Regions from separate parts of the Homo sapiens genome. Here all the other regions are linked to region 1. Evidence: promoter capture Hi-C in 16 types of primary human blood cells and fetal thymus (Javierre and others, 2016). All regions are on one chromosome and are shown on one strand. The core of a region is centred on a gene start or on the middle of the fragment in contact, and the rest is flanking DNA. Distances in the headings are between cores, read along the strand shown. Region 1 holds the start of FAM187B (family with sequence similarity 187 member B). Region 2 has its middle 12 kb from the start of ZBTB32. Region 3 holds the start of RBM42 (RNA binding motif protein 42). Region 4 has its middle 7.0 kb from the start of LINC01766. Region 5 holds the start of PMIS2 (PMIS2 transmembrane protein). Region 6 holds the start of ZNF792 (zinc finger protein 792).

Evidence for each region. The method cuts DNA at HindIII sites, captures the fragments that hold promoters and counts their contacts. A CHiCAGO score of 5 or more calls a contact.
Region 2: a contact is called between a fragment that was not itself captured here and the fragment with the promoter of FAM187B in region 1, in 2 of 17 cell types (total B cells and naive B cells). The highest score is 6.4, in total B cells.
Region 3: the fragment with the promoter of RBM42 here is called in contact with the fragment with the promoter of FAM187B in region 1 in 1 of 17 cell types (total B cells); the score reaches 5.1 in total B cells.
Region 4: a fragment that was not itself captured here is called in contact with the fragment with the promoter of FAM187B in region 1 in 1 of 17 cell types (naive B cells); the score reaches 6.2 in naive B cells.
Region 5: a fragment that was not itself captured here is called in contact with the fragment with the promoter of FAM187B in region 1 in 4 of 17 cell types (naive B cells, total B cells, naive CD4 T cells and 1 more); the score reaches 6.0 in naive B cells.
Region 6: a contact is called between the fragment with the promoter of ZNF792 here and the fragment with the promoter of FAM187B in region 1, in 12 of 17 cell types (non-activated CD4 T cells, total B cells, naive CD8 T cells and 9 more). The highest score is 16.2, in non-activated CD4 T cells.

Annotation. Positions count from the first base shown.
Region 1 is chr19:35,227,209-35,230,083 of GRCh38, forward strand. FAM187B (family with sequence similarity 187 member B) reads right to left here and starts at 1,531. Exons shown (of 2, transcript NM_152481.2): 1 at 751-1,531. The coding sequence starts at 1,472. The HindIII fragment of the contact is 8,324 bases long and covers 510-2,875 here.
Region 2 is chr19:35,691,396-35,694,270 of GRCh38, forward strand. No RefSeq gene overlaps it. Among named protein-coding and RNA genes, the nearest start is that of ZBTB32, 12 kb to the right of the region's middle. The HindIII fragment of the contact is 301 bases long and covers 1,341-1,641 here.
Region 3 is chr19:35,627,653-35,630,527 of GRCh38, forward strand. It overlaps RBM42 (RNA binding motif protein 42), which reads left to right and starts at 1,384. Exons shown (of 10, transcript NM_024321.5): 1 at 1,384-1,629; 2 at 1,868-2,021. The coding sequence starts at 1,502. RefSeq lists enhancers at 354-881, 807-1,046, 1,195-1,489. The HindIII fragment of the contact is 21,053 bases long and covers 1-2,875 here.
Region 4 is chr19:35,603,494-35,606,368 of GRCh38, forward strand. No RefSeq gene overlaps it. Among named protein-coding and RNA genes, the nearest start is that of LINC01766, 7.0 kb to the left of the region's middle. The HindIII fragment of the contact is 210 bases long and covers 1,421-1,630 here.
Region 5 is chr19:35,585,778-35,588,652 of GRCh38, forward strand. PMIS2 (PMIS2 transmembrane protein) reads left to right here and starts at 396. Exons shown (of 2, transcript NM_001395412.1): 1 at 396-764; 2 at 1,199-1,519. The coding sequence starts at 483. The coding sequence ends at 1,369. The HindIII fragment of the contact is 2,233 bases long and covers 368-2,600 here.
Region 6 is chr19:34,962,768-34,965,642 of GRCh38, forward strand. It overlaps ZNF792 (zinc finger protein 792), which reads right to left and starts at 1,462. Exons shown (of 4, transcript NM_175872.5): 1 at 863-1,462. The coding sequence starts at 895. It overlaps LOC124904699 (a long non-coding RNA gene), which reads left to right and starts at 659. Exons shown (of 2, transcript XR_007067236.1): 1 at 659-906. RefSeq lists silencers at 804-853, 964-1,223. The HindIII fragment of the contact is 6,406 bases long and covers 598-2,875 here.

The DNA of each region.
Region 1 (2,875 bases), core at 281-2,780:
GGGGTTTTTTTGTTTTTTTGTTTTTTGAGTCAGAGTTGTCTCGTGATGTTGCCCAGGCTGGAGTGCAGTGGTGTGATCTCGGCTCACTGCAACCTCCGCCTCCCGGGTTCAAGTGATTCTCCTGCGTCAGCCTCCTGAGTAGCTGGGATTACAGGCACGTGCCACCATACCTGGCTAATTTTTGTATTTCTAGTAGAGACGGGGTTTCACCATGTTGGCCAGGCTGGTCTCGAACTCCTGACCTCAGGTGATCCACCCACCTCGGCCTCCCAAAGTGCTGGGATTACAGGCATGAGCCACCGCGCCCAGCCTGCATTTCTTATTAAGGGGCAGGTGGACTGGGGGAGAGGAGGGGAAGGGGCTATTTTCCAGAGGCTCCTGGCAGGAAGTAAGAAGATGAGTGTGAGTTCTGGGAGGCAGGCCTTGATGGGAAGCCCCGGGGGCACCAGCCTCTCCTCCAAGGTCTCACTGACCTTTCCAGATGAAGCAGGGGCCTGTTGGAGCCCCTAAGCTTCCTGGGCTTCCCCCATCACAGCCCCATCTGTCTGCCTGGGCTTCTCCCATCCCGGCTCGCACCACCCTGGGCTGTGTCCCCCTCGGACTGTTTAAGAGCAGGGCCTGGCACTGTCCTGATGACCACTACGTGGCTGAACTGCAAAGAACGCCCACTCATCCCTCTGCACATATTACCAGGAAGGATCCCCTGACCGGAAGAATCTGGGTAGGGGCCAGAGGCAGGGATTCCATCACCTGTACATGGATCCTAAGGGACAGTCGAGCCACACAAATTCTGTCTTCTCATCGAGCCTGAAGTTGTCAAAAATGACGTAATCCACCCTTAACTGTGTGTTATTGGTGCACTGGACGTGGCAGGCTTCCACCTGCAGCTCAGGCCGCAAGCGGCTAGACCACACCAGCACCTCTCCCAGATAGAGCCAGCAGGGCATGGCTTCCTCCAGAGGCTCCTCAATGTAGCGGTACCCCAGGCGTTTACACTCGCCCGGCTCCTCACAGCGGTTGCAGTCCTGCCAGGGCTCCCACCAGGTAAAAATGAGCTGTTTGCTGCCCAAATGCAGGGTCTCGTTCTGCAGGGGCCTCTGACCCAGGTCCTTGTGTGTTATATGCAGGGTGGTGACATCCTGAAAGTCAATTTCATACTGCACCACTTGGCGGCCATTCTTGTTCCAGCAGTGGTAGAGGCCCGTCTGGGAGGGCAATGGATCTTTAATGAGAAGGCTGCCCTCGGGCATTATTTCCATATTGGAAATATTGGTGAGGCTGGTGAGCCTGCCCTTCTTGCCTTGTGTGAATAAATAGTACCAGTGCGCCCCCGAGGAGTTGCAATACAGGAGAATATCATTGCCTGAGAGTAGGGCCTGTTGGCACTGCTTACCACTGGGGCAGCTGATGGAAAAGTAGAACCCCAGTGCCGGGGCAGCAAAGTGGAGCAGCAGCCACAGCATGGGTGGCATGGTGGACTGGGGCTGTGGCAGTGGGCTGGTGCCACCCCGAACATTGTGAGGTCACCCATGAACTCTGGCCTCAGCCCTGGGCAGTGGGATGAATTGCAGCTACCACATGTGTGTGTGAGGTCACCATCCCCTTTTGTTTTGTGACAAGCTGACAACACTGTTTTTCTTTTTTTTTTTTTTTTCAGACAAGGACTCGCTCTTTTACCCAGGCTGGAAGGCAGTGCTGCAATCACAGCTCACTACAGCCTCAAACTCCTGGAATCAAGTAATCCTCTCACCTCAGCCTGTTGAGTAGCTGGGACTTCAGGTGCATGCTAACCATGCCCAGCTAGTTTAAAATTTTTTCTGTAGAGACGGGGTCTTGTTATGTTGCCCAAGCTGGTCTCGAACTCCTGGCTTCAAGCCATCCTCCCACCTTGGCCTCCCAAAGTGTTGGGATTACAGGCGTGAGCCACTGTGCCCCGCTGACCATATTTAATTTCTATTCCAAGCCCTCCATTTTGCTGGGAAAGGAGCAAACTTAATTTGTCTATTCAGAGTTTTCTCTACTACCTGCCCCGCTTCCTTTCCCAGGGGTGAGACTACATTCCCAGGGATGAAATAAGAGCATGAAGGTGTCACATGTGAACACTCAACACATATTTCCTGAACTCTTACTATGTTCTGGGCACACTTCTTAGCACTGGGGATAAAGCAGTAAACAAATCCTCTCGGGCTGGGCTCGGTGGCTCATGCCTGTAATCCCAGCACTTTTGGGAGGCTGAGGCGGGCGGATCACCTGAGGTCAGGAGTTCAAGACCAGCCTGGCCAACGTGGTGAAACCCCGTCTCTACTAAATAGCTGGGTGTGGTGGCGGGCATCTGTAATCCCAGCTACTCAGGAGGCTGAGGCAGGAGAATCACTTGAACCTGGGAGACGGAGGTTGCAGTGAGCCGAGATCGCACCGCTGCACTCCAGCCTGGGTGACAAGCGTGAAACTCCATCTCAAAAAAAATAATAAAAATTTAAAAAAATTTATCTCTGGTTACTGTTCTGACCTCCTGCACCTTTCCCCCTACTCCCTACCCTCCAACCACGCTGGCCTCCCGCTGTTCCCTGAATCTGTCAGGCAGGCAGAGGGGCTCTTGCCCCAGAACCATTGCACATGCTGGTCCCCGTCTCTTCCCTCAGCCATCTGCATGACTCAATACATCTTCAACAAATATTTTTCTCAGTTGCTCCCTTTCCTTCCATCCCCTTTTCTAAACACCTTCTCAGGCGGTGGCTCACACCTGTAATGCCAGCACTTGCCAGCACTTTGGGTGGCCAAGATGGGAGAATCACTTGAGGTCAGGAATTCGAGGCCAGCCTGGCCAACACGGTGAAGCCCCATCTCTACTAAAAATACAAAAAATTAGCCAGGC
Region 2 (2,875 bases), core at 241-2,740, 460 kb after region 1:
GGCCCGCAAGCACCGCGCGCAGCCCCGGTTCCCGCCTGCGCCTCTCCCTCCACACCTCCCCGCAAGCTGAGGGAGCCGGCTCCGGCCTTGGCCAGCCCAGAAAGGGGCTTCCACAGTGCAGCAGCGGGCTGAAGGTTCCTCAAGTGCTGCCAAAGTGGGAGCCCAGGCAAAGGAGGCGCCGAGAGCGAGCGAGGGCTGTGAGGACTGCCAGCACGCTGTCACCTCTCAGTAAGACAGGTCAGGGCTGGGCACAGTGGCTCACGCCTGTAATCCCAGCATTTTGGGAGCTGAGGCAGGAGGATTGCTTGAGGCCAGGATTTCCAGACCAGCCTGGCCAACATAGTGAGACCTCATCTCTCCAAAAAATTTAAAAATTAGCTGGCCATAGTGGTGCGCACTTGTAGTAACCGCTAGTCGGGAGGCTGAGGTGGGAAGATCGCTTGAACCCAGGAGGTAGGGGCTGTAGTGAGCTGTGATGGTGCCACTGCATTCCAGCCTGGGCAATAGCAAGACCCCGTCTCAATAATAATAATAATAGGCCAGGACTTGCTAGATGGGAGGCCGGGGTTTGACCTGACCTCTGACCTCTGGGCAGTCAGGTAGGTAGGCCGCCATCTCTGACCCACATCTGCCACTTGGCTTTCGGGCTCCATCCTACCATATACCTGCAGAGTGTGGCTCAGTCAGACCGGCAGCAGCGTGGCCTCACCCAGGCGGGCCTGCCTGCAGGACAGGTTTGTCCGCCCCAGCCCCCAAACTCAGAGGCCGGCTCCTGTGGGTAAGAGGGGAGCAAAGAGGTCAGGGCTATGTCAGGGCCCGGACCCCTTGAGGGACAGGCAGCCATTTGATGGCTGTTCCCCCCACACCCCAGGTGACTGCATCCCTCCTCAGCCTCTAACCCTCCACGGCTCTCCAGCGCCCTCCTCACCTCGCACTGAGGGCCCGTGTGGCTTGGCCCCTTGCCACCTCTCCAGGTATCTCTTTCTCTCTCTTGCTCCACTGAGCCAAGCTCTCTCTCTCACCATCTGAGATCACAGAATGGAAATAAGAAACTGTGTTATATAGCAATCAAGCCAGGCACATGCCTCTGACTACATCCACTTTTGCTTACACTCCTTCCATGAGGGCAAGTTGGTTCTTTTTTTTTTTTTTTAACTAAAACGTAAAAACACACACCCCTGCCCTTTCCTCAGGTGTCCCACGCCCACCAATTCCTCCTCTCTGGTCCCCGCGTCCTTGGCTGGTGTTAGAAAAATGGCTACAAGCTTCCTGGGAATCAGATAATAAAGCTTACAGGAACTCTTCCCAGATTTAAAAGAGCTTAATAAATAAATAAATAAAGCTTACCTTCTAGAGGGGAAAATAGATAAAACCAATAAGAAAAACACATGTTAGAGGCTAATAAGTGCTAAGGAGAAAAATAAAAGAATGAAAGACAAAACAAAAACCTAGCCGGGCGGGGGGGCGCGGTGGCTTACGCCTGTAATCCCAGCACTTTAGGAGGCCAAGGCGGGAGGAACGCTTGAGGAGTTCGAGACCAGCCTAGGCTACATAGTGAGACCCTGTCTCTACAAAACAATAAAAAAATTTTTAAAAATCGCTGGCCATGGTGGCAAGCACCTGCATCACAGCTGCTCAGGAAGCTTAGGCAGGAGGATCACTTGAGTATGGCAGTCGTCGCTGAAGTGAGCCAAGATGGCACCACTGACTCTGTCAGCCCAGATAACAGTCTCAAAAAAAAAAAAAAAAAAAAGATGACTGGGCATGGTGGTTCACACTTGTAATCCCAGCACTTTGGGAGGCTGAGGCAGGCAGATCACCTGAGGTCAGGAGTTCGAGACCAGCCTGGCTAACATGGCGAAACCCTGTTTCTACTAAAAATACAAAAATTAGCTAGATGTGGTGGCATGTGCCTGTAATCCAAGCTACTCAGGAGGCTGAGATAGAAGAATCACTTGAACCTGGGAGGTGGATGTTGTAGTGAGCCAAGATCGTGCCACTGCACTCCAGCCTGGGTGGCAGAGCAAGACTCCATCTCAAAAAACAAAAACAAAACAAAACAAAGCAAAAAACGGTGAGAGGGCCTGGTGCCCCCTCTGGAATGTTTTTCATTGTCTAGGTTTGACACTGTGCTGTGCCATCACGTGTGGGGCTGGGGAAAGTGCAGATTCCGGGGCACACGCCTGCCCTTGGAGCAGGGATGGAGTCAGCTCCATCTATAGGGTCTGGTCTGGGAGGAGGGAGAGGGTGCTTGCCCAGAGCAGGCTCAGACCCTAAGCCTGAGCCTAGGGAAGGGTGAGCCGACCCTGGAGGCAAATGGACCACAATCCCCCCTCCCCATCAACCTTCACCAGCGATTCCGGGATAAATGACACAGACAGCACTGAGAATTCCATGGTAGTCGTTATTATTACTGTTGTTTTTATTAATAGCAGGGGCCCCATCACTTACCTGTGGGTTATCAATTTATTACCTCTCAGTTCCATTTGTCATCTGGTGCCAGGTTAGGCTTTGTCAATAGAGGGCGCTGGAGAGCCACTGAGGAGCCAGGGCCCCTCTGCCTCACTCCAGGGCTTTGTGTTCTTCCTACTGCGCTGTGACCAGCAGGTGGCTGCTATGCTCCACATTATAGGGAGTGACCTCCACTGCCACCCTCTCCTCCTTCTCCCTCCTCCTCCTCCCTCCTCCTCCCTCCTCCTTCTCCCTCCTCCTCTTCCTTCCTCCTCCTCCTCCCTCTTCCTCTTCCTCCCTCCTCTTTTCTTTCATCCCTCTTCCTTTCTCCTCCTTCTTCCTTCTCCTTCCTTCACCCTCCTCCTCTTCCCTCCTCCTTTTTTCTCTTTCTCCTCCTCTTTCCTCCTCCGCCTTCTTCCTCCTC
Region 3 (2,875 bases), core at 134-2,633, 400 kb after region 1:
GGGCGACAGAGCGAGACTCCGTCTCAAAAAAAAAAAAATAGTTCTTATCTGTTAAGGAGACATAATGGCGCATTTATGACTGAGTTGATGTCTGGAATTTGCTTTAACATACTCCAGCAAAAAAATATAAAAATAAGAAAAGTATAAGGCCATGCGCAGTGGCTCATGCCTGTAATCCCAGCACTCTGGGAGGCCGAGGCGAGTGGATCACTTGAGATCAGAAGTTTGCTACCAGCCTGGCCAACATGGTGAAACCCCGCCTCTACTAAAAATACAAAAATTAGCCGGGTGTGGTAGTACACACCTGTAATCCCAGCTACTAGGGAAGCTGAGGCAGGAGAATCCCTTGAGTCCAGGAGGTGGAGGTTGCAGTGAGCCGAGGTCACACTACTGCAATCCAGCCTGGGCGACAGAGCGAGACTCCGTCTCAAAAAAAAAAAAAAAAAAAAGAAGAAGGTACTTTGTAACATTCTCCCCGCCCTTGAGAATGTACTTTATAAGCCTATCCCAAACCTGTAAGAACTAATGATAATCCCACCACCCTTTGCTGACTCCTTTTTCGGACTCAGCCCGCCTGCACCCAGGTGAAATAAACAGCCTTGTTGCTCACACAAAGCCTGCTTGGTGGTCTCTTCACACGGACGCGCGTGACAAAGAAGTATAGATCAAGTGAAATCCAGAAGTGTTGAATATTGGTAGCGTTTGAGATGTACTTAAGAGTGCGTTATACTATTCCCCTTAATGTGCATGTTTGAAAATACTCAGAATAAAACACTTGTGAGGGCTACGGGAAAAAAAAAAGGGTCAGCTGTGGCCCAAGAAAGGACAGGGACCAAGCCCACGGACGTGCTCCTCTGAGTTGCACTAGTCTCTGGGCCTTGGCTCCCACCCTGAACAGCTCTCATCTTTAAATGTCTTCAGCTGTCCTCCTCCAGGAAGCCGGGTCAGGCGCTTCCTCCCGGGCGTCTCCGGTCTTCCTGGAAACCACAGGTCGGGTGTCAACCTACTCCAGGATAGGGGCCCCGAGGGGCCAGCCAGGCCTCCCAGCCTTGCCCAACCCTGGGGTTGACACGGACTTTAGCGTCTTTTTAAACTTCCGGCGCGGGCTCTGCGGTGGCACAGGAGGGTCCTCCAAACTTTCCTGCGATCTCAAAGGTCCAGATTCCACATTGGGGATGGGCCCAACTGACTTTGCTTCGCTCTCATTAGCCGGTGGTCCTCCAGGAAAGCGGGGCCGCCTCTCCGCTGTGCTCTCATAGGCCCAGGTTCTTGCGTTCGTGTGTCCTTCTCTCACTCTGATTGGCCTATATTCCCCCTGAGGGTGTGGCCAAATCTCATTGGCTCTCGCGCCCGAATGTATGACGTCATGCGCCAGCGCCCGTCGCTTTTGCTGGACGTCATCCTCGGGAGCCCACCCGGACGAAGGGGGAGAGTAGACAGCAGAACCAGCGGCGGCGGCTAAGCAGAGACTGTAGTAGCGGCGACAGCGACGACGGCAGCGATGGCTGGGGCGGGGCCAGCCCCGGGACTCCCGGGTGCAGGAGGACCCGTGGTCCCGGGTCCTGGCGCTGGCATCCCGGGCAAAAGCGGCGAGGAACGCTTGAAGGAAATGGAGGCGGAGATGGCCCTGTAAGGCCCGCGACAGAGAGTGATAAAAGTCGTCCCAGAGCCAGAGCCACCGAATCTCGGAGCCTCCAGGCCTCGATAGGCCGGAGATACGGCTCTAACATGGGGAAGTGGGACCTTCGGGATTGTGGGGGCGGGGATAGGGGAGAGGTTGGCAGGGGTGAGGGTCCCCTCGCGATATACCCACAGTTCCAAAATTGGTACGAGGTCCTGAGCGCTGATGTCTGTTCTACTCCTCCAGGTTTGAGCAGGAAGTTCTGGGGGCTCCAGTACCTGGAATCCCAACTGCTGTGCCTGCGGTGCCCACTGTCCCCACGGTCCCCACAGTAGAAGCGATGCAGGTCCCAGCGGCTCCTGTGATCCGCCCAATTATCGCGACCAACACATACCAGCAGGTACGGCTGAGCTAAGGCATGTAAGTCAGGGAACACAATGCCTCGAACAGAGTAGGTGTTTGTGTACAGAGAGCTGTTGACGTTTTGGCTTGTTGACTAATTAGCATGACAAATATTTTATATGCCAGGCACTGAGAACACAGTAATGACTGAGAGAGACATTTCTGCCCTGTGGGAGCTTATATTCTAGAACATGTTGTCCAGTAGAGCTTTCTGCAATGACGAGACTGTTCTGATATATTTAAAATTTATATTTAATAGTTCGTTATTCTCATTAGTCACATTTCAAGTGCTCAGTAGCCAACTATATATGACTAGTAGAGAAAGAGAGAGAAATTATTAAGATGAAAATAGGCTGGGCGCTGGGCGTGGTGGCTCACACCTGTAATCCCAGCACTTTGGGAGACCAAGGCGGGCAGATCACGAGGTCAAGAGATCGAGTCCATCCTGGCCAACATGGTGAAACCCCATCTCTACTAAAATTACAAAAATTAGCTGGGTGTGGTGGCACGTGCCTGTAGTCCCAGCTACTTGGGAGGCTGAGGCAGGAGAATCGCTTGAACCCAGGAAGCGGAGGTTGCAGTGAGCTGAGATTGCGCCACTGCACTGGAGCCTGGTGACAGAGCGAGACTCCGTCTCAAAAAAAAAAAAAAAGCCCTGAGGCAGGTGCATACCTGTTGTGTTGTTGTGTTCAAGGAACAGCAAGGAGACCAGTGACAGTGGAGTGAGCAAAGAGGAAAGTGGGAGGAGATAAGGACAGAGAGGTGAGGCCAAATCTTGTAGAGCCTTATGGCCATTTTAAGAACCCTGGTGGCCAGGCACGGTTGCTCACGCCTGTAATCCCAGCACTTTGG
Region 4 (2,875 bases), core at 276-2,775, 380 kb after region 1:
TAAGAGAAAACATTGAGGGTAAGGGGGATTCTGACTAAACCAACCTAATAGGATTCTAGTTGAAGACAGGCCAGGGTGACCAGACATCACCAGGGGGATGGTGGAGGATGAGGAACCTGATCAGATGCCGAGGTGTATCAGATACAGAGGATGAGGGTTTCTAGCTAAACTGACGTAGAAGGGTTCTTTTGCTACAACTGGATTTTACAAAGAAGTGCACAGAAGGAGAAGGTTCAGATGCTTTTTTTTTTTTTTTTGAGATGGAGTCTCACTCTGTCACCCAGGCTGGAATGCAGTGGTGCAATCTTGGCTCACTACAGCTTCCGCCTCCCGTATTCAAGCCATTTTCCTGCCTCAGCCTCCTGAGTAGCTAGGATTACAGGTGCTCACCACCTCAACCAGCTAATTTTTTATAGTTTTAATAGAGATGGGGTTTCACCATGTTGGTGAGGCTGGTCTTGAACTCCTGACTTCGTGATATGCCCGCCTCGGCCTCTCAAAGTGCTGGAATTATAGGCGTGAGCCACCGTGCCCAGCCTTTCTTTTTTTTTTTTTTTTTTTTTTCTTTTCTTTTCTTTTTTTTTTTTTTTTGAGACGGGGTCTCGCTCTCTCACTCAGGCTGGAGTACAGTGGCATGATCTCGGCTCACTGCAACCTCTGCCTCCCAGGTTCAAGTGATTCTCCTGCCTCCACCTCCTGAGTAGCTGGGATTACATGCGCCTGCCGCCACGCCTGGCTAATTTTTTTATTTTTAGTAGAGATGGGATTTCATCATGTTGGCCAGGCTGGTCTTAAAACTCCTGACCCCAGGTGATCCACCTGCCTTGGCCTCCCAAAGTGTAGGAATTACAGGCGTGAGCCACCGCGCCTGGCCGCCCGGCTAATTTTTATATTTTTAGTAGAGCTGGGGTTCTCCATGTTGGCCAGGCTGGTCTCAAACTCCTGAGATCAGGTGATCCACCTGCCTCAGCCTCCCAAAGTCCTGGGATTACAGGCATGAGCCACTGGGCCCGGCCCAGGTTCAGAAGCCTGACTAAAGTTTGGCCAAGCAAAGAATCCTTGTCAGGAGGCTGTAAATAAGAGACCTGTGAGAAATAAAAATTGTCAGGTGTCTGAGCCCAAGCCTGCATGTATACATCCAGATGGCCTGAGGCAACTGAAGAACCACAAAAACAAGTGAAAATGGCCAGCTCCTGCCTTAACTGATGACATTACCTTGTGACATTCCTTCTCCTGGACAATAAGTCTCCGGAGCTCCCCACCGAGCACCTTGTGACCCCCGCCCCTGCCTGCAAGAGAACAACCCCCTTTAACTGTAATTTTCCACTACCTACCCAAATCCTATAAAACTGCCTCACTCCTATCTCCCTTTGCTGACTCCTTTTTCGGACTCAGTCCGCCTGCACCCAGGTGATTAAAAAGCTTTTACTGCTCACACAAAGCCTGTTTGATGGTCTCTTCACACGGACGCACGTGACAAAAATAAAATCCTAAGTCCGCCAACTGGCTGAATGAACACTGTCTTGGCCAAGGGGCCTACAGAGAAACACTAAAAGCTGAGTTCCTAGCCGTGACTGAACGGGTGGTCGGGCACACCTCATTCTACCTCCTCCCTTGCTGACTGCCATGAAGCTTTCTTCCCTAAGGGTTAAACAGAAACCAGCCCTATTGAAAGACTCATTCACTGCTAATTTCAACCAATGGCCTGAAATACATGGCTGCTCCTCCCTTTTGTGGTTTCAACATAACAACTGACCAGCATTCCTTCCTGATCAGAGGCCACCTAACCACGGGGTGTGGCTCTGGCCAGTCTACAGAGGCTGCACACAAAGGGCCTTTGTGTCCTCTGCATCACCTTTTGATGTATAGGGCCTAATTGTAATACATTTAAGTGTTAAGTCTCCACTCCAAAGTGAACATGGGGCCTGGCACGGTGGCTCACGCCTGTAATCCCAGCACTTTGGGAGGCCAAGGTGGGCGGATCACCTGAGGTCAGGAGTTTGAGACCAGCCTGGCCAACATGGTGAAACCCTGTCTCTACTAAAAATAAAAAAATTAGCCAGGCATGGTGATGGGTGCCTGTAATCCCAGCTACTCATGAGGCTGAGGCAGGAGAATTGCTTGAACCCTGGGAAAGAGAGGTTGCAGTGAGCTGAGATCGCACCACTACACTACAGCCTGGGTGACAGAGTAAGACTCCATCTCAAAAAAAAAAAAAAAAAAAAAAAAAAGTGAATATGGGATGTTACTACACATGTGCTGTACCTTCCCTTCATGAATATTCATAGCTCCTCCTATAACCTGTTGAATATGTATACTGAGCCAAGCCATTCAGCGTTAACTCTGACCTTATCCTTCCCTTACTGGAGGTGCCTGCTCTCAGCTTCTACCGGAGGCTACACTTCTCGGCCTGTGAGATGGCCCGGCTGCAGGCTGCAACTCTTTATGAGAAATAAAGCTCTCCTTTCCAAATTTGTAAACCTGTATTAGTCTGTTCTCACGCTGCTGAAAAGAACTGCCCAAGACTGGGTAATTTATAAAGGAAAGAGGTTTAATTGACTCACAGTTCCGCAGGGTTGGGGAGGCCTCAGGGAACTTAAAATCATGGTGGAAAAGAAAGCAAAAACGTCCTTCCTCAGATGGCAGCAGGAAGGAGAAGTGCCAAGCAAAGAGGGAAAAGCCCCTTATAAAACCATCAGATCTCGTGAGAACTCACTATCTCAAGAACAGCAGCATGGGGGTAACCACCCCCATGATTCGATTACCTCCCACTAGGTCCCTCCCACAACACATGGGGATTTGGGGAACTACAATTCAAGATGAGATTTGGGTGGGGACAGCCAAACCATATCAAAACCTCATGATTCTTCAGTTG
Region 5 (2,875 bases), core at 234-2,733, 360 kb after region 1:
TGAGCCACTGCGCCCAGCCGGAATTCATTTTTAATTCAAGACTTTACAATCCACTTCTGACACTACTCATTTTCCTCCCCTCAGTAAATCTCTTACTCTTACTGGGCGTGTCTAGTTTCTCTCTTCCACAACTCCTGGGAGACCCTCCTGACATCGCCCATCCGCGCAGGCTGCAGAGAGAGATCAGTGGGAGGAGGAGGAGCCGAGAGCCACCACTTAGGCTTCCAACCAATCCCTACCAGGGTGGGCGGAGCCCACTTCCTGATTGGCTGCACTCTCTGTGTCTTGGGGTGGGCGAGAACGGCGGGGCCACGCCCCCTAACTAGGCAGCCAATCAGGACGTGGGGTGCTGGTTTCTCCATTGCGAAGCTTCAGCCTTTGATGGTTTGGGTCCTGGGAGTCTGGTTAGTACAAGGGGAAGCCTAGTGGGTCTGGCGCTCCGTTTTCAAGACACTCGGAGTCCGTCTTTGAGGGGAAAGGTCATGGCCCTGAAACCACCTTCTGCCACCCAGCCTGCTCCCAACGCGCCAGCTACCCCAGACGCCCCCCCTACCACAGGTGATCCAGGTGCTTCAGCTGCCCCAGGTTCTCCCACTACCACAGGTGGTCCAGGTGCCCCAGCTGAGGTGCCCCAGGAGCCGCAAGAGCCTACACAGACACCAGAGGAACTAGCATTTTACGCCCCAAACTACCTATGTTTGACCATCTTTGCTATACTTTTATTCCCTCCATTTGGATTGGCAGCTTTGTACTTCTCTTATGAGGTAAAATAATGCCCAAGTCATAGCCCCCGTCCTTTTTTTTTTTTTTTTTTCTTTTTGAGACCCAGTCTCACTCTGTCCCCCAGGCTGGAGTGCAGTGGTGCAATCTCGGCTCACTGCAATCTCTGCCTTCCCGGTTCCAGCAATTCTCCTGCCTCAGCCTCCTGAGTAGCTGGGATTACAGACATGAGCCACAGTGCCCGGCTCATTTTTGTATTTTTAGTAGAGACGGGGTTTCACCATGCTGGCCAGGCTGGTCTCGAGCTTCTGACCTTGTGATCCACCCGCCTTGGCCTCCCAAAGTGCTGGCATTACAGGCGTGAGCCACTGCACCCAGCCTACCCTGTCCTCCATTTGGCCCCTGCATCTGCTCCTATCCTGGGACCTGCATAGGGGCTTTCCCTCAGTGACTGCAGGTCTCCAACCGTTCTCCCCAGGGTTCCTGGACACAGAAACCCACATCTATGCTTCCACCCCTACAGACTATGAAGGCCAACCAGAACAGTGAATGGGAAGAGGCTTACATCAACTCAGGCCGAACTGGTTGGTTCGGTGCATTCGTGGTAATGATTGGCTTAGGCATCATTTATGGCTTGGTCCTATATTAATGAAGTCTAGGCATAGCAACCCAGGGGTCCGCTCCCCAACCGAGCCACTCACCAAACACTAACCAGCCAAGTCAGCCATCAGGCAAGAAATTCAACCGCTGAGACATCTAGCCAAGAAATCCTCTAACCAAGGAACTCAACATTCAAGAAACCCACCAACCCAGGAACACACAGACCACCTGCCTGTGCTACTTCAACTCACTCAGCTCCAGAGCTGTCTTCGTTCACCCTAGGGGTCCACACTTCATGCCCTAGATCCCTTTAGCTCCTTGACACTGGGCTGTTCTTTCAGAGGAATTTTAAACCAAAAAACTGGAATGGAATGTTCTGGTTTCCTGTGGTGTGTGTGTATGTGTGTGTGTCAACATGCCCATGATTGTTTTCTGGGTCAGTGGTCAGTATCTGTGTTTCCCTGGAGCTGTTTCCTAGACTGTGAAAATCAGAATGTCCCAATGGGGAAGCCCACAGACATAGAATTCAGGCAGATGTCAGTTAAAAACTTACCTCTGACACTGAAAAACTGTATAGCCCTGAACAGATACTTTTCTTGAGCATAGTTCCTTTGTCTCTAAAGCAGGCATAATTGCCAATGTGGGGATGATATTTAGAAATCTGAACTGATGTTTATTCTCTAGGGGTCTTCTCATTTGAGCTGGGATTGGAGATGTCTAGTGTCTCAGAGCAGCAATAAGAAAACAGAAACCTCTTCCAGCTTCTGACATCCAAATGTCAAGCTCTTAGGAGAAGAATGGAAAGTCCTCAAGAAATGCAAATAGCTTTGGCAGAATAGCTGATGAAGACCACCTCTCCCCCCTCCAGAAAGGCATTGGTTCCCCATTCATGGAAAAGGGAATGTAGAGAGAGATTAGACAATAGTACATCCATAAGGTTCCTGGAATCTGCATCTGAGGAAGAGGGGCGTCAGAGACCCCAGCTGTTATCTATAATCCCTCCTCACAGATAAGGCCTAGAGAGGCTCCAAGTTCTCAAAGAAGATATGCTACATGGTGTAGACATTTACAAAGAAATGACCTCAGACAGCCAAGGAGGATACCCCATGGCCCAGCCTAGTGAGAAGAAGGTGGGTTCCATAGGAATCCCAAGTGCCAGGTGGAGACAGAACTGTAGAGGAAAACTAGGGATAAGCAGGGAGCCATCGTGCATGAATCAAAACAGAGATCTAGACTGACACCATGGGCCACAGACACCCCGGGGCTGCCTCTGATGCCCAAGCTTCATGGACAACCCCAAGTTCAGAACCAGATGAATATTTAGCACAATATTTAGCAGAACTAAGTTTCCACCACCATGGAGAATGGGGATTCTCAGTAGAAAGTCAATGGAGCTGCTGGGCAAGAGACTGCTCACTGTCCCCCAGAGCCCATCGCCTCTTTGTTCTGGGAACATTGCCTGGCCACGTCTCAGAGGTTCCCCTCTGCAGCCATGAAATGTGCTTTGGTCCTGTGGAATGTGAGCAGAACTGACATGTACCACAAACAAACCTGG
Region 6 (2,875 bases), core at 212-2,711, 260 kb before region 1:
CCCGAACTGTGTGTTCAGCGGCCCACTCTTCAACTCCATTTGGGGGTCTCTGGGACATCACAGGCTCAACTTGGCCAAAACCTAACTTCTACTGCTTCCATGGAAAATTCCTCCTAAAACCAACTTCTCAGTTCATAAAGCTGGATTCATCAAACCAAAAACCATGGATTCTTCCCTCCTCTTTCTCACCCTCCACATCGGAAAATTTGGTCAGCTTGACTTAAAAGACATCAAGTTCCCAATCACTTCCTCTACCTCCAGTCCTCACTCTGGTCCGGCCAGCCGCAGCACTGGCCTGGGCTATTCCATTAGGCTACTCCTTGGCATCCCTGCTTGCGGCTCACTCCATATTCAGTTCTCCACTGTGCATCCACAGGGAGCCTGTTAAGACCTGAGTCACAGCATCTTCCTCCTCTGCCCTAAACCTTCCATGGCTCCCAACACCCTCAGAACAGAGGCCCAGCTCTGCCGTTCTGAGCTGTCTTCAGCCCACCTGCTCTCTGGTTCCAGCAGACATAATATTAATAACACTGACCTGGGTGGGGTTCCTTGAACACTCCCAACTCAGTCTCCACACCGTGCCCCACCCCACCCCCAAGCTTTTGCGCACGCTGGTTCCTGTGCCTACAAAGCCCTTTCTCCCTCCATCCCATTACATTTCAGCAACGGAAGCCACTTTATATAAACCCTGCCCTGATTCAGGATCCTAGCTGGGAGCAACTCCCTTCCAGGGTCCCCTGACTCAAAAGCAAGGAAATGGGAAAGGCGAAAAGTCCTAGAACAAAGCCATCTTTTGCGTCTCAACACCGAGAACAGAAGCGTGGGGGGCCGACAGCGAAGGGCCTAACGTCCAAGCACTCACCTGCGCGGGGTCCCGCAGCGCCGCCGCTGCCATCGGAGTCTGTGGTCAGAGCAGGGCCCCACGGTGCGGGAAACCACGGGGCGGGGGTAGGGGGTCTCGCAGGCTGAGGCTACCACCCACCTGGCCGTGCCCCAGACGAGGTGTGACCCCGGGCTGAGGGTCGCACTCCTAGCCTCAGTCTCCCCCGTGCAAAATGCGCAAGGGGCCCGGGGCGCAGGCTCCGGGGGCGCCGAGAGCGCGCAGCTCCGCTGGGTACCCCCGTTGCAAGGGGTCACGGCTGGTGCAAAGGCGCGGAGGGGGTCCCGGCCTCACTGTCCCCCTCGCGGTCCGGGAAAGCCGGCGGGGCAGCTTCACGGGCGTAGCCCCAGCCGCCCCGCCCCCAACTCGGGGTCCCCAGCTCCTGGGGACTCAGCCTCCCCGCCGGGAAATGACCTGCGAGGCTGCAGTGCAGGAAGTTCCGGCCCCCACCGTGGCGGCCGGGAGAGTTGCCCTCTCCCGTACTGTCATTGGCCTGGCGCCAGCCGCTGGTGCACAGGCAGGGCCTGGGGATCGCGAGTTTCTGCCCAGCCTCTCGTCAGGCTGAGGGTCCAGGGCGGGAAGGAGAGCGGATCTCGTCGGGTCTCCACCGCCGCCGCCTGCAGCCCTCGGGCCTTCCCCTTAAAGGGGCCGCTCCCGAGCCTGCAGCCGCCCGCGCTAAACCCCGCCCACCCTCCGAGGTCCAGGAGGAGAGCCCCAGTGCTCTTCCTGCGCGTGTGGGCATCGGCCAGCCGCTTCACCCCTAAGGGACCTAAATTCACACTGGAAAATGGGGATAGTACCCAATGGGCGGGGTCTTTGCGTTGTAATATTAAATGTCGCTCTGATTCAGGGCTTCTCAAACCAGCAACATCAGCATCACCTGGGGACTGGCTGAAAATGCAGGTTCTGGGGCAACAACTTAAATCTAAGGACTCAGAAATTCTGGGGATGGGATTCAGCCTTCTCTACTTTTTGCGGGGGGGGCGGGGGGGATGGGTCTCGTTCTGTTGTCCAGGCTGGAGTGCAGTGGCCTGATCATAGCTCACTGCAGCCTCCATCTCGGGCTCAAGCTATCCTCCTGCCTCAGCCTACCAGGTAGATGGGATACAGGCGTGCACCATCATACACAGCTAATTTTAAAATTTTTTGTAGAGACTGGATCTCCCTGTGATGCCTAGGCTGGTCTCAAACTCCTGAGCTCAAGTGATCCTCTCACCTCGGCCTCCCAAAGTGTTGGGAATTGCAGGAGTGAGCCATGGTGCCAGGCCTCCTTCTCTGTTTTAACAAGCCCTCTGGGGACTCCAATGCTGGCTCCAACTTTACAGCAGGGACTCTCATTGAAATCCAGTAAATAAAATGGGAAAAATAACACTACATTGTTGCAGGAAGTCAGGGACCCCGAACGGAGGGACCTGCTGAAGCCGTGACAGAAGAACATTAATTGTGAAGATTTCATGGACATTTATTAGTTCCCCAAATTAATACTTTTATAATTTCTTATGCCTGTCTTTACTGCAATCTCTGAACATAAATTGTGAAGATTTCATGGACATGTATCGCTTCCCCAATCAATACTCTTGTGATTTCCTATGCCTGACTTTACTTTAATCTCTTAATCCTGTCATCTTCGTAAGCTGAGGATGTATGTCATCTCAGGACCCTGTGATGATTGCGTTAACTGCACAGATTGTTTGTAGGGCATGTGTGTTTGAACAATATGAAATCTGGGCACCTTAAGAACAGGATAACAGCGATTTTCAGGGAACAAGGGAGATAACCTTAAAGTCTGGCTGCCTGTGGGACGGGCAGGACAGAGCCATATTTCTCCTATTACCAAAAACGGGTAAGAGAAATATCGCTGAATTCTTTCCCCAGTAAGGAATATTAATAATTAACAGCCCTGGGAAAATAATGCATTCCCAGGGCAGTGCCTCTAAAATGGCTGCCCTGGGAGTGTCTGCCTTATGCACATGTAGATAGGGATGAAACACACCC